Regions from separate parts of the Homo sapiens genome. Here all the other regions are linked to region 2. Evidence: promoter capture Hi-C in 16 types of primary human blood cells and fetal thymus (Javierre and others, 2016). All regions are on one chromosome and are shown on one strand. Each heading gives the region's core, a stretch centred on a gene start or on the middle of the fragment in contact. The rest is flanking DNA. Distances are from core to core; before and after follow the strand shown. Region 1 overlaps PTPRE (protein tyrosine phosphatase receptor type E). Region 2 holds the start of CLRN3 (clarin 3). Region 3 overlaps PTPRE (protein tyrosine phosphatase receptor type E).

The links. Contacts are between HindIII fragments. The CHiCAGO score rates a contact against its expected background, and 5 or more counts as called.
Region 1: a fragment that was not itself captured here is called in contact with the fragment with the promoter of CLRN3 in region 2 in 1 of 17 cell types (monocytes); the score reaches 8.4 in monocytes.
Region 3: a fragment that was not itself captured here is called in contact with the fragment with the promoter of CLRN3 in region 2 in 4 of 17 cell types (monocytes, M0 macrophages, neutrophils and 1 more); the score reaches 10.8 in monocytes.

What each region holds. Positions count from the first base shown.
Region 1 is chr10:127,973,445-127,976,144 of GRCh38, forward strand. The region is part of intron 1 of PTPRE (protein tyrosine phosphatase receptor type E); the gene reads left to right. Among named protein-coding and RNA genes, the nearest start is that of PTPRE-AS1, 41 kb to the left of the region's middle. The HindIII fragment of the contact is 1,870 bases long and covers 440-2,309 here.
Region 2 is chr10:127,891,624-127,894,323 of GRCh38, forward strand. It overlaps CLRN3 (clarin 3), which reads right to left and starts at 1,318. Exons shown (of 3, transcript NM_152311.5): 1 at 933-1,318. The coding sequence starts at 1,161. The HindIII fragment of the contact is 797 bases long and covers 1,122-1,918 here.
Region 3 is chr10:127,993,517-127,996,216 of GRCh38, forward strand. The region is part of intron 2 of PTPRE (protein tyrosine phosphatase receptor type E); the gene reads left to right. Among named protein-coding and RNA genes, the nearest start is that of PTPRE-AS1, 61 kb to the left of the region's middle. The HindIII fragment of the contact is 2,475 bases long and covers 208-2,682 here.

The sequences.
Region 1 (2,700 bases), core at 125-2,624, 82 kb after region 2:
AGGGATTCTTATTTATGAACTAGTTTAAATGGTTCAGATCAGCCAGTTGTTGTGGGGTGGAGGATCATTAAAACAATAATATTTACAAATGTTTCAGCAAAGTGGCTAGTCGATTGGCAGATTTTTCATTCATCAGCTTTCCTAATTTTCAGAATCTTCCTGAGGAATATCTAACAAACGTCTCTGCTCTGAGTACCATATTCCTGAAAAAAAAAAATTGATCTGTTTTCAGGATGGGTCTCCCCTTTTCTCAGGCTAATATATTTTCTTAGTCTCTCGCTAATATCCTCTGCATGCCTGTGAAGGATGCATCATTTTCTGATAGCTCTGCGCCTGAACGCCACCTCTGTCGATGGCAACGCTTCACCCAGGCCCCCAAGCCAAGCCCACGGTCACGCTTAGCTTCCTTCCCTTTTCCCCACTTCTCACATGCCTCCAAAGCTTGTGAGCTCTGCTTCCTCTATTGTTAAATGGCTGCCCCCTCCCCGGCCGCCCACCACTGCCCTTGAGAACACCTGTTCATCCTGCATCTGGACCACAGGTGTGGCCTCATTAGTCAGGAATCCACAGTCCACACTTAGCATGGTCCTGCCCCTTATTCTTCTCTGCAGCCATCACAGTGACCTACTTTGCAGAGAGCAGAATGGGAATGCCCAGGCTTGCAGACTTCTGCAGCCCCCTTGTGGCTTCAGCCCAAAGCCAAAGGTCTCTGCAGCATTCCGGGATCTGCCCACCACACATCCCAGGCTCACAGCAGTGATTTATTGGGTCCAGGCCTTATACTGAGTTCTGCGTCCGGTCCTTACCTCCTTTACTAACCCAGCAGGAAATTTTATTATCTCTATTTCGCAGATGAAGAAACTTAGGCTTAAAACTGTTGTGACTTGTTCCAAGGTCAAAGCCAGGATCCAACTTATTTGCCATTTCCAGAATGTTCCATACACTCTCTGGCTTCCCGGTTTTTGTTTATGTGTTCTTCCTGGGAATTTTCTTCTTGAGAAAGATGACCTAACTTTAGCCAAACACAGGTTAGTGTTCTGCTTCCATCTTTCATGGCCCCTGGGCTTGCCACGACCTAGCACTGCTCACCCCTGCATTTCAACGATCTGTTTATAAGCCTGTCCTCTGGACTTCTTTTAGGGTAAGGAGGCTGAGGTTCTGTCCATGTATTTTTTTTAATCTCTAAATCCTAAGCAATTGGCACAGAAATAGCACATAGTAGATGCTCACTAATGTTAAATGGCTGGTTTAGCATATTGATGTACTCATTCAACTAGTATTTTATGAGTTTCTGGTACATGCACAGAACTTTTCATATACTGAAGATGTTCAAGCTAGAGATAGCAGGTTTTCTATTCAGAAATCACCAAATTAGCCACAGATGCTCTGTCTTTGGGGAGGGTCTGCACCTGCCTTCGTCATCTGTAAAATGTGGATCATACCTCCCCACCTCATAGGGCAGCTGAAATGGCAGCAAATATCCTTAATGTTAATCCAGAGTCCTACTGTACTGTGTTGTTGTAGAGACGTGAAGACACATAAAGATGGAAGGGGCGGGCGGGGAACAGCTAGGCACCAGGAGGGATACAACCAGGGCAGCCCAGAGGGCTCAGAAAAGATGTCAAGGAGAGAGTAGGACTTGACCTACTGGATCACCTGGCGTCTAGTGGGTTTGGGTGAGACTGAGGCTTTGTGGGACAGGGAGCAGCATGAGGGAAGCAGGGGGACTGTGCTGTGTTGGAGCCCCGTGAGACACGGTTGTGTGAGTGAGCGGCCTCTAGAAGGTGGATCACCGTGGTGTCTGCCCGACTTGATGCTCTTCCTGTGAGCTTCCAAACCTGTTAAGCAATCCAGAGGGCTGTTTACCAACACACGCTACTCTTCTTATCCGTGCCAATCTCATCAGCAAACATGCTATTTCCCTTATTCGTGAATAATAATTATTATTATTTCATAATAAAATGATCTTTCTGAATAATTATTTAATGCCAGAGCTCATCCATTCTGCCTTAGTGAATATTGCTTTGCCCTGGCCTCTGGCCACAGGTTACCGTGGACAGCCGAGTGTCAAGATCATCACCAACCAGGCCCTTCACACACATGCTTAGCCTCATCGCAGACCTAGGGTCACCTGGTGAAAGGCAGGTGTGTTTCCAATTGGCACGCTGAAAAAGAAAACCTGAAAACACTGATTTAACATATCTGAGTATTAGAGATCAATCATTTTCTCTGGGGCTCACTGAACAGGAATTAGCTCAAGAAAAACATCTTTAGCGTGTTCAGTTACCATTAGCGTCAGGCACCCAGCAAGCTTGTCCTGAATACATTTCAGAGTCCGAGCCCAATTGGAGGAGCGAGGCAGGTAGAGGGGAGTAAAACAGGCCTTGTTTTCGAGGACTGCTGCTCTGAAGTCCCACTGCACTACCCAGTGTGGGGAGTCCTTGTGGCAAGCTACCCTATATCTCTGAGCCTCAGTTCCCCCTCTGCAAAGTGGGTCTAATAACAAACTCCTCATATGAGTATTGAGAGGATGCAGTGATCCCTGTTGGGTGCTTGGCGGGGAGTCTGGCATGAAGTTCCTGTCCTTACAGTGGCTGTTTCTTCTGCAAGGGTCTTCTCTTGGTGGCAGTTAACACCGTCCATCCCTGTCCTCAAACACTAGATCCCCTGCCAAGAAGCTACTCATAGGGCAAAGATTTT
Region 2 (2,700 bases), core at 68-2,567:
TAGTTTCATTAACAAAGTCATAAACACACTAGAGCTAGAACTTAGAGCTAGTGTCTAGGACTCAAACTTCTTCATGCATTACACAAGGACTAAACATTACATGTGTATAAGGTAGAAAATGATGCATATTTATAAGTCAAAAGGTAATGACTGTATGATACCCAATAATGCCTGTATAATACTTGCATACAACATTGTTCAAAACAAAGTCCACTTAATGTGTTACATAATTTACAAATGTTTTTAAATTTAGAAAACATGAAGGTAGGTTATCAAACCTCAAAAGTCAAATAAGTAGCTAAATCAACTTATTATTCTCAATGAACTTTTAATTTTACTTCCATGGAGAGGAGGGCATTATTATATAAGAAATCAGAAAAAAAAATGTTTAGGAATTCCTATCAAATATACAATTAATAAATTAATGGAAATTTAATATAATTTCCAACGATTAGATTTTTTGGAGGTAAATTAAAATCAGTTAAAGAAATGAACTTGAGAAATAGAGATAATAAATTTTCCATTTTACTCTTTCCTGCATAGATGCCACTTGTGAAGTTCTAGACAGAGGTTGTGGCTCCAGCTAAAAACCCAGTCAATACAGTTAAAACATGTGTTCCTACTGGCTATTCAATGCCGTATTGCTGCCACATATTTTTACTTATTTACTTGTCAGTCAACTTGGTAGGTATTATTTAAATACAGCCACTGCTAGAATGATATAGACTATTGTATTAATAGACACAAGGAGAACCGAGGAAGCTCAAATAATGACATGGCAAATTTCCAAAATTATGAGTTAAGCTTGTACCTTCAGCCTAACCCAAAACTTACAAAGAAATTATTTTTGAATGGTTATTTGGCCCAAATATAGAATGACATAAACCTTAATTCAATCTCACTATATTCATTCAAATTAGTTTATCATTTACCTGCAAACTTTTTCTTTGGTTCTGCAAGTCCGTGACTCAATTCTTCACTACTCTCCCCACGAAAAAGTCCGTAAGTGATGAAAATGCTCCCATTTGAAGCAGAGTCTCTAACAGCAATTGTACTGGTGATCCATGCTTGTGTCCCAAGAATAGAGCAAATTACAATGAAGGACCCAAGGCTGGTGAAAAAGCTTGATAAGAACATCAATGTCTTCTTTGTGGTAGGCATTTTCACAGGAAAATAAGTTCTCTAGGACAAAAAAAGGAATATCTTCTTATAACACTTTTGAACCTTATCTTTTGAAGTCTGGTATTTAGAAATGGAGTCTAACACTTTATTGTCAAATATAAAATCTCACTCTTCCTGAGGAAGGGTTATGCTAATGGACATTGAACTCTGAACATGGCCATAAAATTAACAGTAGCTGAACTTTGGTCTGGAGTAAGAGGCTGCTATGGTTACAGCCAACCAGCATGAACAAGGGGTGGGCATGGTCTTCCCAGGGACTTCCTCAATCATGCAATTAATTTATAATCCTTGGCCAAGTGTCATGGAAGCAAGTTTAGCCTACCATATCATGACAGGAGTAGAATTCCTAAATAATAGGGCGTGGAGGATCTGTATTCCCAAAGCGTTGCTGAGTCTAGCAGACAACAACATGAAACCCCAACTCCTCCAAGAATTATTGGAAATATGTAAACATATACTTCACTATTGTGGATATTTATGTTGCTTCAATTTCACAATTATGATTGAGAAAGAACAACACCCAAATATCTTTAGGCATAAACCTTTGTTCATATCTCCACTTGCTTCCTTGCTTAAACTTCTAGAAGTTTGACGAAGTCTGTGGATTTTTCTGAAGTTTTTGCTATGCATTGCTCAGTTTCTTTACTCATTAGTGATTTGACTCTTATAATTGTTCCAAGAGGAATCCTAAGGAGGGTAAACCTTTGTCAAATGTACTGTGGAGTGGAAAGAGAAAAGCTTACACCTCCTTATGTTTTATACCTCTCTATTTTTAGACTTTATCAGAGAGGTTTGGCTTTCAAATTTCCTCTTTCAAATTGGATCATATTTGCGTATTATTTAAATTATATCTTGAGAAGTTTCATCTTTATTACTTTTTAGTACTCTGATAGAGATGGTTCTGAACATTCTTGTTTTTGGTCGTTATAGCTGTATCCACTCTGTTGAATGGTAAATAGTTTATAAATGGTCATTTCTGGACTTTCGAAAAACTCTCCCATTTGGCGAAAAGATCATTTCTTGAGATGATAAATAGACATTCATAGCATGTTTTCCATACCGCTTTTTACTGTATTCTTTGATTATTTAGTAATATAATATTAAGTTGGTGCAAATGTAATTGCAGTTTTTGCCATTAAAAGTTACATTTACTTTTAATGGCAAAAAAACGCAATTACTTCATCCTCTACTTTTCTTCATTAACACCTAACTTATTTGTGGAACTAGCTGATCATCTGTCTTTTCCGTTATTGTAACTAGATGACATGCTCCGGGAGGTGGACATGTTTGTTTTGTGTACCACTGGATTCCAGGGAACTCTCAAAGAGCCTGGCCCAGAGAAGACACTCAGCAAACATTTGTTCAATAAATTATTGGAGATACGTACACACATACTCTACTACTGTGGACACTTATGTTGTTTCTATCTTAAAATTATGATTAAGGAAGAACAATGCATGAACATCCTTATGCATAAACCTTTGTCCATATCTCTGATTATTTCTTTGGTTAGACTTC
Region 3 (2,700 bases), core at 195-2,694, 100 kb after region 2:
CCAGGGTTCACCCAGCATGCATCGGGTCTCAGGAACCTGCGTTGCTGATGGATATGTGAATGAGGGGATGAACAGGCGTGGAAGAAGGGGGAGTAGGGAGAAGACAGTTGTATCTTTGCATTCTTCACAGAGCCTGGGGCAGCACTTAGCACAAACAGGGCTGGCTACTTAAAACCCGGGGTCACTCGTTCAAAAGGCAGGAAAAAAAGCTTTTTCCTTTCTTCGTGTTCTCTCTCTGGATCTTTCATAGTGGTGTGTGTGTGTGTGTGTGCGTGTGTGTGTGTGACCTTCTATTTAATGTCACATTCCCCCAGGCACTAGGATACTCTCACTGCCTTCAACTGGGCAGGTAGAAGGCATCCATCCAGCCCCCATCCTCCCTGTTGAGGAGTTGGGGGAGTCTCAGTTGCTGGTCGGGGCAGGAAGTGGACAGTCAAGAACCCAGCGGGATGGAGCAGAAGGTGGGCCAGGTGTGAGTTGAGGGGTCATACCCCGGCACATGTCCCATTGCCCCACCAGAGTTCCCTCACAAAACACAAGTTCAGAGATAAAATTCTTATGACATATGAAGGTAGCAGTTACAGAGCATTAAACCCCAAGCATGAGGGGCTCTCTTCTGAGTGAGGGCCTGAGCACTGCTCTGCTCTCGTGTTCCCGAAGCCCACCCTGAGTACGAGAAGTGAGGGTCAGAGCCCTGCAGGGTCCTGCCCATGGTGACTGGCGAAGGACTTTCTTTTCCGGGGGAGCACAGCCAGAGCTCTCTTCTCTGATTCCATCATTAGTTTCTGGAAAGGCCTTCCCTGCCCACTCTATCTGATGTTACCTATCCAACTTCCAGCCCCAAGTTACTTTCTGTACCCCCGTTTTACTTTATATTGTCATTAAAGCACTTACCAGTATTTGGAACTGTGGTATTTACCCATTTTCTCACCCGCAAGAACGCAGGCCCCATAGGATAGGGATCCCATCCCTCTGTCCCCTTGCACAAGTGCTGGCATGAGAGAGGCACCCAGTGAATTTTAGGTGCATGAATGAATAGTCTTTACGTGACTTTGTATCCTTTTAGGAGCAAGCTGGATATAAATAAATACATGAAGTCAACTAACACCTCCAAGTGGCTCAGTCAATTTTCAGTGATTTTTCTCTGTCCAACACCAGACTGGCTTCAGTGATTTCTTTCACTGATGTGGCCACATTTGTTTTGTTTTATTTTGTGGCCATGCAGCCCGATGTCGCAGGGGCTGTTGGTCCTCCTGACTCCCTGCTGGAACGTAAGGGAGAGCCTCATTCCAGGTCTGCACTGGCCCCAAACTGGGCCAAGACTGCACATTTCAGTTCACTTTGGGTTTCTGATAGCAGTTCTCTCCCCAGCCCCCATCCCTAGGATTCCTAAGAGCTAAGGGATGTACCCACCAATCCAAGCCACCTACTAGCATTGAACTTCTGTGTCTTGAAAAGGGATTTTGTTTTGAACCAGTCACTGGGAGATGCGTTCTAAGGTGAGGGCTTCCGGGTCAATAAACCTGTAGGTGTCGCCCACCAAAAAAAGTAAATCTGACCTCAGCCCAGTCCCATGGTGGTGCCTATTCCATCAGGGCAGAGAGTCAGCAGCTGGCAAGAGAGGCTCAACCCCCACCACTCCTGAGAGCCAGGAGGCCCTGGCATTCAAACTCAGGCTTCACAGATCCACACATCTTTGTTCTCAGAGAGGAGAACCCAAAGTGTGTCTCCCAGTGAGTTCTGAGGATGAGGGAATTATGAAAGGCACCGTGTCCACTTGTGAGATAAACCGACCCACCTGGTTCCTCATAGTGGGAGGTGGCTCAAGTGTCAAGTGGCCCATGCTACCTGGTCTTCTTGGTTTTCTTCCATCCGCGTCCCTGGAGATGGTTATGTGCTTTGCTTCTTACTAAATGTATCCAGAAGCCAAGGCAAGCTAGGAGGAGGAGTGGGATCTGGATCTGCAGATCCAGAATAGCACCGCAAAATTACCCAGCTGGGGCTTAGCTGACTGTCCAGACCCTGACGGTGGGGTTTAGAATTGGATAGCATCCAAGCCTTTCTGTGATTTCATCAGCACCATCATGCAATAGGTTGTTTAAACACCGATATGAAAACCTGTTTTCCAACGATGCTGCAACATTTGATTAATTCTTCTGGATGGGATATCAAGGTGGCTAAAGCAAGCATTGCTTGCAGTTATGATGAATTTGCTGAGTGTCAGAGGAAAATTGTCAGGCCACAAACTAATCATTCTTAGGTGCCTCATTTAGCATTCTGTCCATGTTTATACCAACTCTACACGAGCACACACACACACACACACACACACACACACACGCACGCAAAGTATTGGAGACCACCTTGAACTAAATGGATTTGACCTCTATTTGTAAAGGGTGCATTAGCGTGAAATGGAGGGGGGCTTTCTTTGAGGGTTCAGCAAGCCATCTAGCCTACATGCTGCTGTCTTAGATGCCAGCCTTGGTCTTAAAGAGCCTGGTTTCTAAGGGAAAATTCATTTCATGGACATCTTGTTGCCAGGAATCAGTGTGATTCACTTTTCATTTCAGGATGATGTTGAGTCCTCTGTGTTATTCCCAGTGTGGACGTGGAGTAGTGACTGATGTCTAATTATTTGGAAGGGAGAGAGCTTCTCTAAGAAGGACATGCAATGTCAGAAGCTTCCGTTGCTTGGCA